Regions from separate parts of the Homo sapiens genome. Here region 2 is linked to region 1. Evidence: promoter capture Hi-C in 16 types of primary human blood cells and fetal thymus (Javierre and others, 2016). All regions are on one chromosome and are shown on one strand. The core of a region is centred on a gene start or on the middle of the fragment in contact, and the rest is flanking DNA. Distances in the headings are between cores, read along the strand shown. Region 1 holds the start of TEX30 (testis expressed 30). Region 2 holds the start of STK24 (serine/threonine kinase 24).

The links. The method cuts DNA at HindIII sites, captures the fragments that hold promoters and counts their contacts. A CHiCAGO score of 5 or more calls a contact.
Region 2: the fragment with the promoter of STK24 here is called in contact with the fragment with the promoter of TEX30 in region 1 in 1 of 17 cell types (total CD8 T cells); the score reaches 5.4 in total CD8 T cells.

Annotation. Positions count from the first base shown.
Region 1 is chr13:102,770,101-102,776,523 of GRCh38, forward strand. TEX30 (testis expressed 30) reads right to left here and starts at 3,686. Exons shown (of 6, transcript NM_138779.5): 1 at 3,582-3,686. RefSeq lists enhancers at 3,441-4,118, 4,119-4,796 and a silencer at 3,519-3,858. The HindIII fragment of the contact is 5,388 bases long and covers 1,543-6,423 here.
Region 2 is chr13:98,574,332-98,580,754 of GRCh38, forward strand. It overlaps STK24 (serine/threonine kinase 24), which reads right to left and starts at 2,776. Exons shown (of 11, transcript NM_001032296.4): 1 at 2,414-2,776. The coding sequence starts at 2,455. STK24-AS1 (STK24 antisense RNA 1) reads left to right here and starts at 2,924. Exons shown (of 1, transcript NR_046542.1): 1 at 2,924-4,510. RefSeq lists silencers at 286-345, 1,810-2,679, 2,730-3,039, 3,060-3,209 and an enhancer at 3,300-3,489. The HindIII fragment of the contact is 9,197 bases long and covers 1-6,423 here.

The sequences.
Region 1 (6,423 bases), core at 2,436-4,935:
CTGTTGTGAAAGGTGAGTTGGCAGACATGGATATGACACAAAAACTATGAATGAACACATTCAGTAGCTAAAATAAACATTTAGAATTACTTCCCTAAAATCTGGTGTCTTTACATGTACATTTTTCTACGGGCACTCAGAATTGGTTAGAGGGCCAGGTGCAGGGTTGGTAGATGTTATAGAAGATAAAACAAAGGTGATACTTTGACATGGAAACTGTAAGGTAATTCATATCAAAGTAGGATGCTGTATCTTGTCAAAATATGGTAATGTAAAATGTATAAATACACATTTTTGTAAGAATCTTCATTCTAAACCAACTATCCTAAACTTAATTTTTCAGCATCTTTCCATTAACCCATTTTCTTCATCATTATAGTTCCCAAGCCTACCCATCCACATCTTGTCATGGAACTTCACAGTGCTGCTAGAAGGCAGAGTATATATGTCTTCACCCTGTTTACTTTGGACTTGGCTACGTAACTTGTTTTAACTAATGGAATGTAGGTAGACATTTCAATGTGTGACTTCTGAGCTGAGGCATGGCAAACTTCCAGAAGCCCTTTTGAACTTTCACCCTCAGCCATGAGAAAAACATGCTCTAGGTGGTTTTGCATTTTCAGCCTGGGTCTCAAAATGAAGACACACGGAACAGAACTGAACCCAAAACTGAAGTCTGGAGTCCAGACTAGTCTAACCAACATCTGACCAACAGCTGATCTGAAGATCCATGAGCATAAAATGTAAGCCACTGAAATTTTGGGGTTGTTATGCAGCATTCCTTCCTATGTTAAGAGCTCTTGTATTGTTTAAGACATTACCAACATCAGGATCTCCATTACTCACCCATTTTTCCCATTAACATTTATTTATTCATTCATTCAATAGGTAACAATAACATGGTTTAAAGTTCAAAAGGTACCAAGAATATGTAGTGAAAAAGTCTCACTCATTCCACTCTTGACTTGACATCAGATTCCCCTCTCCAAAGGTAACCAATATTATCTGCTTCTTACTTATCCTTCCACATAGCACTGTACTTATTTTCACACGATGTAAGTGTATTTATAAGATAAATTCCTGGGGAAGGAATCGCTGTGTCAAAGGGTTTGTTCATAATTTTTTACAGAATTTTTTCATAGAACTTCCCAAGGTGAATACATTTCATTTTTGAATAGGTATCATGTGCACACGGTACATTAAAAAAATGTAAACAGAAGTCAAAGTATTTGTTCATAATTTACAGAATATGTTTTTCATAGATCTTCCTGAGGTGAAGAATACATTTCATTTTTGAATAGGTATCGTGTGTACATGGTACATTTTAAAAGACAATGTAAACAGAAGTTTCCACACACTCTTCCCCCAACCACCAAGTTCCTTTCACTTCCTAGAAACCACCATAAGCAACTTATTATGTACCTTTCCCCATCTGTGTGTGTGAGCGTGTAGAATTCTCTTATTTCAGCCTGGAGAGCATTAGTCTGATCTGACTGCAAAAGTTTTGGAAGTTGAGTGAGACAAAGGAGATGAAAGACTTCAAGCTTCAGTGTCCCTATCTTCATACATGCAGCCCCACAATTATGCCTGGGTTTCTCAGTTCAAAGATCCTCTGTTTTACTTTCTCAAGAGAATAAGCCTCCATCCAGTCTTCTAACAAGGGGAAAGGCAGTCACCCAACAGGTGAAATGGGGAAGGGGATCTGGATATCCAATTGCTTCTCAGATTTCACCTAAATCATCTTTCTTTAAGCTCCTTACACCCACCTTCTGCACCACACCACCTTCATTCCCAGTACCACCGCTGTCCAGTGCTGCCAGTTTCCGTGCAGTTTGAAGATTCTGTGGTTAATACAGGGTTTGCTAAGCCATACATGTTTTGGAGCCCGCTATTTGATTGCCAGCGTTTCCTTTCCTATTCTCCCATTGCTGGAGGTTCATGTTTGTTTTTAAATAGCCTTAATGTAAGTTTAGTGAAACTTCATGAAGGAGTAAATTTAGATGCATGTAAACAACCACTATCTTAATTTAGAATGCTTCCCTATTTTTTTTTTTTTTGAGACAGGTTCTCGCTCCGGCGGACAGGCCGGAAAATTGAGTGGCGCAATCATAAGCTCACTGAATCCTCGAACTCCTGAGCTCAAGCGATCCTCTCGCCTCAGCCTCTTGAGTAGGTGGGACTACAGACGCTCACCACCACGCCCGCTTATTATTTTTAAATGTTTTTGTAGAGACGAGGGTCTCCCTATGTTTCGCAGGCTGGTCTTGAACTCCCGGGCTCAAGCGATACCCCCTGCCTTGGCCTCCCAAACCGTTGGGATCCCAAGGCGTTTGCCACCTCTCCCGGTCTGCTTTACTTCTTTTCAGACTTCACGATGCACAGTGTGTTCTTCACGGCAGCTGCACACATGCTGGTTTTCTTCAGAAACACGGAAAATGCCCCATAATGCAATCCCCAAGCAACCTGCTCTAGGTCATCTGGGTTTGTTTTTTTGAGACAGAGTCTTGCTCTGTCCCCCAGGCAGGAGTGCAGCGGCGCGATCTCGGCTCACTGCAGCCTCTGCCTCCCGGGTTCAAGAGATTCTCCAGCCTCAGCCTCCCGAGTAGCTGAGATTACAGGCGTCCGCCACCGCGCCCAGCTAATTTTAGTAGAGACGGGGTTTCACCATGTTGGCCAGGCTGGTTTTGAACTCCTGACCTCAGGTGATCCACCCGCCTCGGCCTCCCATGGTGCTGGGGTCAGGCGTGAGCCACCGTGCCAGGCCACTGTCGTCTGGGTTTTCATCTCTGGCTTCAGGTTCAGAGAGGGCAGGGTTTGAAGCCTGGCCCGGCCTCAGTGCCCTCAATGGCGATGGTGAAGATGACCGGCTAGAGGTGCTGCGCCCACGAAACGCCAGCTCTAGTGGCGTCCGGAGCGCCGGCTCCACCGGCTAGGCGGTCGGCGGAGTTCTAGGACGACAACTACTCACAAGGGCTGGGCGATCACCTCCCACGCCACGGGACGGAGACGCCACAGCCCCTTCAACTTTCAGTTACAAACGTTCGTGCCCTGTTACGTCCACAGCATTAAGCTGGCTGTCGTGGGGCAAACAAAAACGTTGAGTCCGAGTCTTACGGGGGGTCGGGTCAACAACCCCAGCAAACATGGAGAGAAAATTCAAAGCGGGTCTCACGGGCGTGCGGGGCTCGGCGGCGCTCGGGGCACGGGATCCGTTCTCTCCGCAAATGCGCGCTGCCGGGGCTGCGCCGCGGGCTGCCCCGGTCGACCCCTCTCAACTCCGAGGCTACTTCGAGCCAGTCACCCGGGACTGGCTGACGTGGTCCAGGTTGGCCCCGTCCGGCTCTCCCCGCCCGTACCAACCCCACATTCCGCCCTCCTACCCGGCAAAGCGGACGAAGCCCCCACCGGCTGGTGCCCGCGGGCACCGAACTTAGCGGAACGCCTCCCGGCTCGGACCAGACGCCCCTGAGGAGTGACGCCCGCGAGCCTCAAACGTCTCAGGCGGGCCTGCCGGGTGCTCTCCCCGTCTCCCAGGAAGCCGCCCGTCAGCCGGCGGCGCCAACCGCCACCGCCGCACTTACCCGGGAAGGCAAAAGTGGCCGCGGGCACCCAACCGCCGTCACTCCCTTCAGGGAGCTGACTAGCGCGCTCGAAGCGACCGCCTCGCCTGCCCCGCCACAGCGTTCGGCTACGACGCACGCGCGCGCAGGCCACGCCCCCCGGGTGCGCGGGCCGGGCCGCAGAGCACGCCGGGAGCGTGGGTCTCCCAGCCCGCCACATCCCAGGGCTGTACGCGCGGACTAGCGGAGCTAGGGGAAGGTGCCAGGGTGGCCGCCGCCTCAGTAGCACGCGGACGGCTGGAAAGTCAGCCCCCGTTTCCGCCTCACCCAGGATTGCTCCACTCGGGGCCTTTCCGCATCCCAGCCACCACTCCATTCCGAGGCGCGATCAGCTCTGACCAGTCTTCCTCACACCCATAGTCGATTCGTTACTCCCGTTAAGGTCAAACGCTGACAGAAACCAGCCGCTTCGCACACTTCTACATGGGGTCAAGCCCCCTGTTATCTTTGCGGGGATGATTGTAACAATCACTTAAATGGTCGCTTCGTACCATCTTGCCCCCGCCTGGGCCTTGTCGGCGACGCCGCAGCCACGTGGATGCTGTGGAAGCCTGTCCCCTGGATCTTCCAAAGGCTCCGCGCTCATTGCCACAGCCAGCGGCCGGCAGTGGCCTAGGCTGTTGCACGCGATCGGTCCCCCACATCTCCCCTCTCCATCTGGCTCCTTTCCCTGGAAGCCCAGGGCAGCCCACACTTCGCTGTCCTCACCCCCACTCACCAGGCGGGACCCCACGACGACCGGCTTTTGTCCTGGCTGCTCCCTCCCAGCGTGGGCCGCGTCTCCTCGGGGTCGACAGGGCGCGTGGTTTTCACAGCGAGGCCTCCCCTGATCACCTCCCCGCTCTTCCTGTCCTTCCCCGGTCACCTCACGAGCTATGGATGTATCTGTGTCTCCTCACTGCGCTATAAGCTCCCAGGTGAAGAAAGGGTTGCTTTTTGTAAATTTTTGTTTTAACCGTGAACCTCTTGTGTATGAATAATGCTCAGAAAAAAAAAAATTTCTTAAATGAATGAATCTTCCCCAAGCCCAGTGCAGTTGGCACCTGCCCTCTTTTCTGTCACGGTACATACAAGGAAATACATTCCACAAAACCACATAGTCGCTGTCATTTATCACAAGTGTTTCCCCAAATTACAAAGTCTTAATACTTCTTTGTCTCCTAATTTTTTAGCTGTGTTTTTAAAAAACATTTCTTTACATGCCATAAAATTCACTCATTTGAAGTGTACCATTCAATCATTTTCAGTAATTTTAAAACCATTTGCAACCATCACTATAATTTAAGAACATTTCCATTATCCCCCTGAAAAGTATTTGCACAGTTATAGTTGAGGTAGGAGATCAGCAGGACTTTCCAAGCACTGATCACCACCTGCTGAGCAAAACAGGATCTGGTCAGAACAGGATGCCCTAAAAAAACGGCCAAAACTGCCCTAAAGAAACAGGCCCAAGCCAGCTAAAACCAGGATGGTGACCAAAGTGACCTCTAGTGCCCTCACTGCTCATTATACACTAATTATAATACATGAACATGCTACAACACTTCCACCAGCACTCTGACAGTTTACGAATGCCATGGCAATGCCCAGACCTTACCTTATATGGTTTAAAAACGGAAGAATTCTCAGTTCCGGGGAACTCCCCACCCCTTTTCTAGAAAATTCGTGAATAACCCACCCCTTATTTAGCGTACGATGAAGGAGTAGGTATAAATATAGCTAGCCAGTGGCCGGGTGCCCTGGCGCATGCCTGTAATCCCAGCACTTTGGGAGACCAAGGCGGGTGGATCACCTGAGGTCAGGAGTTGGAGACCAGCCTGGCCAACACGGTGAAACCCGGCATCTACCAAAAACACAAAAATTACTCAGGCGTAGTGGCAGGCACCTGTAGTCCCAGCTACTCGGGAGCTGAGGCAGGAGAATTGCTTGAACCCTGGAGGCAGAGGTTGCAAAGCCGAGAAGAGCGCACCACTGCACTCCAGGCTGGGCAACAGAGCGAGACTCCGTCTCTCTCTCTCTCTCTCTCTATATATATATATATATACATACACACACACACATATACATATGTGTATATATACACACATATAATATATATCCGTACTATATATAGTATAAATACTATGTATACATATATAGTATAAATATTATATATAGTATTTATGTGTGTATGTATATACTATATACATATAGTCATATAGTATAAATACTATATACATATAGTCATATAGTATAAATACTATATATGTATATATGTGTATATATACACATATGTATATATAACATGTATATGTTTATATACGTATGTATATATTATATGTATGTATATATTATATATGTGTATATATGTGTGTATATACATATATATGTATATACACACATATGTATGTATATACATATATATGTATATGTAGATACATATATATGATATGTATGTATATACATATATATGTATATGTAGATACATATATATATATAGCTAGCCAGCAATCCATGAGTGTTACTCTGCCTGTGGGGTAGCCCTGCTCAGTTTACCAGAAGCAATTTTCCTGTGCTTTGTTGCTCTAATGTACTTGCTTTGCTTTCATTTTACTGTCAGTTTGCTCTTGAATCCTTTCCTGTGCAAAGTCAAGAACCCTCTCAGGCTGAGCTCCAATTTTGGGATTCACTGGCATTACAGCCATTCTCTGTTCCTACCCCTAACCCCGGGCAACCACTAACATACTTTCTGTCTCTCTGGATTTGCCTTTTCTGGACAGTTCATATAAATGGAGTCCTACACTGTATGGTCGTATGCCTCTAG
Region 2 (6,423 bases), core at 1,526-4,025, 4.2 Mb before region 1:
GGAGACAAGAAAAAGGGAGGGCTATGAGGCCTATCAGAGCAAGCCATAGAAGAGATACGGACTTCTCTCCTCCCATTTAGCAGACAACAGTCGAAAGCAGGTGTGTTTTTAATTGAATCTTCAGCAACAACTCTTAGGGAAGCCTCCCAGGGCAGTAGCAACTGCTAATTTGAAGTAGAAAATAAATGTGCTGTTGTTTTTCTTTTGTGGGGTGGGGGAGGAGAAAAGAATGTTCTTCCCCAAATGATACACTGTTACCATACAGTCTGTAGATGTACTTAGGTACAGGAATGACTGGCAGAAGCCAACTTACCTACCTCTAAAACTGTAAAACTGTAACAGCTGAAAATCTGATCATCTTTTCCACTGAGAAACACTTAAGATCTTTCATACTGAGAAAACAAAATAAAAACAGTTCCCATGTAACACAACCTAACAGATACATAATAGTTGAGAGGCAAAGTTATTAAGGAAATGTATCTTCTTTTCCCAAGGTTTAAGAATTCTGACCCACTCAAAAAAAAAAGTGAGGATAAAAATGAAAAGGTGAGATACTAGATATCACCTGGTAACCATCTGATACTGACTTCACGGCACCAGCCAAAGGGGCTTTAGTACCTTTTCAAACTGATTCGCTATCCACAAAGGCCAATTAACCTAGTAAGTGAGGCATTTGTGCTAGATTCCAACCTGATGAACACGGTATAAATATCAACCTAAAGGAAATATTGATAAAACTTTTTTTTTAAATCATTACAAGAGTCCTTTCTTGCTCGACTAGTAAGAAATTACTTTTTTCACCCAGTTCACTCTGACCTACACACCTCTAAATTCATACCAAAGCGGCTTTAGAAAATACCAAGAAACCACATCTGATTGTTACCCAGCAGTCAGCAGAAGTTTAGGTTTTGAATGCATGCTAAATTCAACGCTCCTTAAATGAGAGTCGACAAAAGAATATTCTTCAAGCATCTTCCCAGTCACTCTTAAGATAATAACTTAACTGTTGCTGCTTAAATGTATATTTATTTACTGCTTAAACATATATACACACATATATATACTGCTTATATATACACACACACACACACACACACATATACACACACACACACTTGGACTAAAATTCTAGCTGCCATTAAAGTGGTAACTTTGAGTTCCTATTTTTCCAGAATTCAAACCTGAACAGTGAAATCCAGTTTTCTTTTTACGGTTTCAAAAAAAGAAGGGAGAGGGATGATCTCACTGGAAGAGGCGAGCAGACCCCAGAGGCAGTCCCAGGTCTGGGCTCTGTGCTTCTCAGCCCTCAAGACACAGGGAAGGAGCCTGTTGGTACCTGTAAATCAACCAGTAATCTACTTGGATGCTTTTGGTTTTCTTCAAACACTTAACGTTCACTCAGCTAAACTGGCAGAGCAAACTTTCATGACATATCCTAACTGCATCCTAAGATTTCCATCCTAAGCATTTTGCCACCATTTCTGCGCCTACAAAGTTTACAAGAGTTAGCCAAGGACGGTAGCTTTGTTTTTCAAAGGGCTAAAAGCAACGACAACGAAAACAACAACAACAAAAAACCTTTAACTTATACATGTAAATTTGAAATTCAACTCCTCTCCCACTCCCCAAAAAGTCACTGGTAGGCCAAGGTGTCACCAAGTACCGAAAGAGAGGTTTACTGGGCGAAGAATTCCTGTAAATGCAACCAAGTCTCAAAGTGAAAGTCCAGGGTCCCGGGGCCGGGCCCGGGACCCTGGTGCGCGGCTGTCCGAGGGATTCCTCCTTCCAGAAGGTTTGCAACTCGCACTTTCCCCCGGTCCGCAGGTGCACGGGGGCTCCGGGCAAAGCCACTGCAAGTGGAACTCGCGGTTACCTTCCTCCACTCCACCCTGCCTACTCCGCTCGGGCCCGGACGAGTCCAGGCGCGCTCCCCGTCCCCGCCCTGCCCAGGTCTCCCGCCCGCCTGCCCGGGGGTGGGGGACGAGCCTGGGGGACGCGTCCTGGGGCCCTCCGCCAACCCGGCCACCACGCAGGGCCCCGGGACCCGGCGGGGGCCTCCAAGGGCATCACTCCACCTCACTTCTCCCGGGGACAGGGCCACCCAGGGCCTGCAGCTCCGGAAGAGTGTTGGGGCGAGGGGAGCGCGGAGGACTAGGCGCCCGCACCCCCACATCCGGACCCAGGCCGCGGTTCCTACGGCTCCTGCACGCACACGCCGGAGACCTCGGCCGCCGGAGCCGGCAGGGACGCCCAGGGACTCGGACTCGGACCCCCGGCCGAGCCGGGCGCGCGGGGAGCCAGGCTCCGGCGCGACCCCGGCCGGCTGAGCGTAGGGGGACGCCGTGTGGATACCGCCAAGTTGCTGCTTCCGCCCCGGTCGCGCATCCCGGCCCCGCGGCCCGCGCCCGCCTACCTGCATGCCGGGCAGGCCCGACTGCACCGGGGAGTGAGCCATGGCGCTCAGGACGGCCACTTCCTGGGACGGGACGGCCGGGCCGCGACGATCCGCGCGGGGCGGCGAGGCCCGCGGGCCGCGCGCAGCCCTCGGGCGGCGGGGCCGGCCGGAGCCCGAGGCCACCCCAGCCCTGGCGGGTCCCGGCCGGGCGGCGGGGGCTCAGCGGCGGGTGGCGGGCCGCGTCTCCATGCACGGCGCCAGGGAGGAGCTGCTGGGGGCGCAGGGCCTCGCGCGCACTGCCGCCGCCGCCGCTGCTGCCGCTACTGCTGGGCTGGAGCCGGGCGGCCTGGGCCCGCGCGCGCTGGCCGCTGGAGCCGGAGTGGGCGCGCACAGCCCGCCGAGCCCGCGAGCGCCGAGCGCGTCCCGCCCCGGCCCGGCCCCCGCGCCCGCCCCCACGGCCCGGCCGGGGACCCCGCCCCGCGCTTCCGGGAGGGGGAGGGGAGAGGCCGGTGGCCGCGCGGGAGCCCTAGGCCGCAGCCGCCGCCTGTCGGCCCGGCCCGGGTCCCAGCTGCTCCTGCGGCGCTCCCACGCCCCCGCGGGCGGGCGGCGGGGCCGGGAGGGGGCCTCGGCTGGGGCGGGCGCCGGGAGGGACCGAGTCGGGGCCGGAGGCTGGCCGCGTGCCCACCGGGCCGGCGCCGGGGCGAGCCTGGGCCGCGGCCCCCTCTTCCCGCCAGCCAGCCCACCCCGCCCCGGCGGCCTCTGGGAAAACGCGTCCCGGGCGAGCCCCTGAGGGCAGGATCGGAGTCGGGGGCACCTGGGGAAGGAGAGCGCCCCGTGGGGCCTCGGCCGGTGGCCTGTGCCAAAAGGCCGGGCAGAGCTGCTTCGGTGTCTGGGTGAAGTTTCCAGCCAACCCAAGAAGGAAACCGAAAGGGAAGAGGCCGAGAGAGAGGTTAATTCCTAGTGCTTTGGTTACCGAAAACAGCCCGGCTGGGACTGCTGGGCTGGGAACTTAGCTAAGCAGTGCGGAGGCTGAACCCCACCATCTCTGGGATCCGCAGCAAATCAGAAGCCCCCACCCACGATAAGGGGAAAATGGGGCGCAGAGGGCAGGGAGGAAGGGAAGAGAATGGAAGGAAAGCGCGTCTGGACTTTGAACTGCAGCCCTCTCCCTCTTTCCCTTGCCTCGGAAGCTCCAGGCCCACTCAGCACCAGTTCTGTCTCCTCTTTTCAGCCGCCTTCTCTCTAGCTACTGAGGGGAAAAGTCAGGATGAAGCGGGTCCCTCGGCCTCCAGAAGGTGTTTTATTACAGTCGCAAACAGGTAGAGCGGCAGCCACCCCAGTGATGACTCCCTGCTCCTTAGATTGTAGGGACGCTGGCACCTCACTCATGCTCCTAAGTGGCCATTTTGCGCCCTGGCTGGGCGAGTTAGGCAGACAAAATGAGCCCCCAAAAGTTTAAAGGCCTCCACCAAAGGAGTATTTCTTTTCTGAGGTGTCATTGTATTCCATCCACGAACTTCAGTTCCCCCGGGTGCTCTGGATCTGACATGGAGTAGGATGCTAACATCTAATCCCTTCTTTCCCTTTGGAAAGATGCATGTTTTTTCTCGGAGTCCTAGGGAATACCTTAGAATACTTTCATGGTTGTCATTGGTACACCCATCCCTTGAGGAGCCCTGCCACCCGTAAGTAGGACTGCAAGGAAATACAAAATTAAGAGAAGTATGAACCCTGATACCCAGGAACTTAAAATCAGGTGTATAAATTTTGTACACCTAAAAAATATGGTACCTAAAGAGGCGAACAGCAAAACAAGCAAGAATGTGAATCTTTAAAATGTTTCTATTCTTCAGCGCAGCCCAGGAATTCTACCTAAAGTAACATATCCTAAGGCAACAACCAAGAAGTGTGGAAGAATGCATGTAAGAAGACACAGTGATGTTTAGAATCCTGGGGAAACGGAACAGCCAAAAAGTCTCACAGAGGTTAAGTAAATAATAGCATTTTCATACGAGTACTATGTAGTCATTTAAAATTATGTCTTTCAGTACCTAGTAATGGGGAAAATGTATTCATTATATATTATTAAAGAAAATACAGGGTACAAAACACTGTATATAGACTGATCTCAAATGACTATATATATATTAATATATATGGCCTACAGACACACAGTCATGTATTGCTTAACAATGGGTATACATTCTGAGAAATGTGTTCTTAGTTGATTTTGTCACGTGAGCATCATAGAGTGTACTTCCAGAAACCTAGATGGCATAGCCTACTACACACCTAGGCTATATGGTATGACGTATTGCACCTGGACCACAAACCTGAACAGCATGTGACTGAACTCAATACTGGAGGCAACTATAACACAATGGTAAATATTTGTGGATCTAAACATGTCTAAGCATAGAAAAGGGACAGTAAAAATATTCTTCTAGGGTCAGCAGAGCCAGGGCAATAACCTGGCACCAAGATAAAGAGCAAGAAACTAGATGAATGGATGGAAATGTCTGGATGCTGATCTGAGACATTACCATGGTAAATGCTCAGAAATCACTTTGCAGTGGGCTAATTGCCAGCAAATAAGTCACAGCAGATGGGGGACAAAGGCCCATAGTACCCTGGGTATAAAAAAATAACCGGAATCCTAGTTTGTGTCCTGAGGCTAGTGAGGCTCAAAACAGGGAGATTCCGGCAGGATGTAACTTCTCTGGACACAGTGACTTGCATCCATTAGCTGGTCTGTTGCCCCGAACCCTGTTTATCTTCTCTCCACACTGACCATTGTTTCATCCTTTGACAATGTTCATACTGTTGAGCACCATTCTTATCGAAAGAAGGGAAGGAAGCAACATGGGAGTTACTGGTTCTCCTTGGCCCTATGCAGGTAGTACCGAGTATTCCCCATGGCAGAAGTAGGTCTCCACCTTATTTGTTTTTGCACAACAGAGATGATGCACAGGGCCTGAGCCCGGGATCAGATCCGGTGCAATTGCCTATTATGTTCATTCATTCACACCTTTTTTGAATACCAACTATTAATACATGTCAGATACCCAGTTCAGTACTGGGCATATAAACATTAGATCCTCAGGTGCCTCTTAACCCATCCTAGGGACCTGGTCTCCCAGAATCCTAACTTTGGATGAATACAATACCATAATTGATTAAACTTAGAGTGGCAATAGCTATCATTTCCACCAAGGAAAGAAAAGGATCATCCTCTCACCCTCTTCCTCTTGTCACTTTCCCTCCACCCCCAATGTATGATTACAACAGGTTATACACTACCGTAAGTCCAGAAGGAGATTATGAGAGTCTCCATAGAGATGATGCATTTTATGGTCTCCATGGAGATACTAACCCATTGAGTTATTTACTTTATCCATTGAATTATTTTTCTTCCCTGGTCCTCTTTGTCTTTTGTGTTCACTTAAGGACATCAGTCTGGCAATGAATTATGATCTGAAATATATTCTGGACCACAAAGAATATTTCCATACCCCTATATGGAGCCCCTCCAAATATAAAGCCCCTATGTATTTGCTGCCCCTAAGCTAGTTTGTACGCACTCTCAGCAGAGCTCAGAGAGGAACAGAAAACAAGAATTCCACAATCAATCCCTTCACTTTTCTTTCTAAGTTGAAAAGATAAACACCCCCAAATGCTGCTTTATAAAGAACAGCTAGACAAGTAGAGCATTAGCAATTTAAATTCAGAGATTAAAGAAAGGGACTTACATGGTGAACTTTAAAGGGAGAAATAGGAGTAGCTTGGATAAGTAACTAACAGAAGGCTTAGACAAATTTCTACACATGTTCAGTAGGTGAAGACAAATTATCAAGATCAGTTTAAAGAAGAATGTCTAGTCATTGTTGGATGACACAATAGCAAGAAAAGGTATGCCAAAGCCCCAGAAAAATATCCCAGCTACATTGAGGAATGGTACCAATAAGGTTTCATTCTGTGCGTGGAGAGCTCAGAGGGCAGGCTCTTGCAGGGATATCACCCTAAGTAGG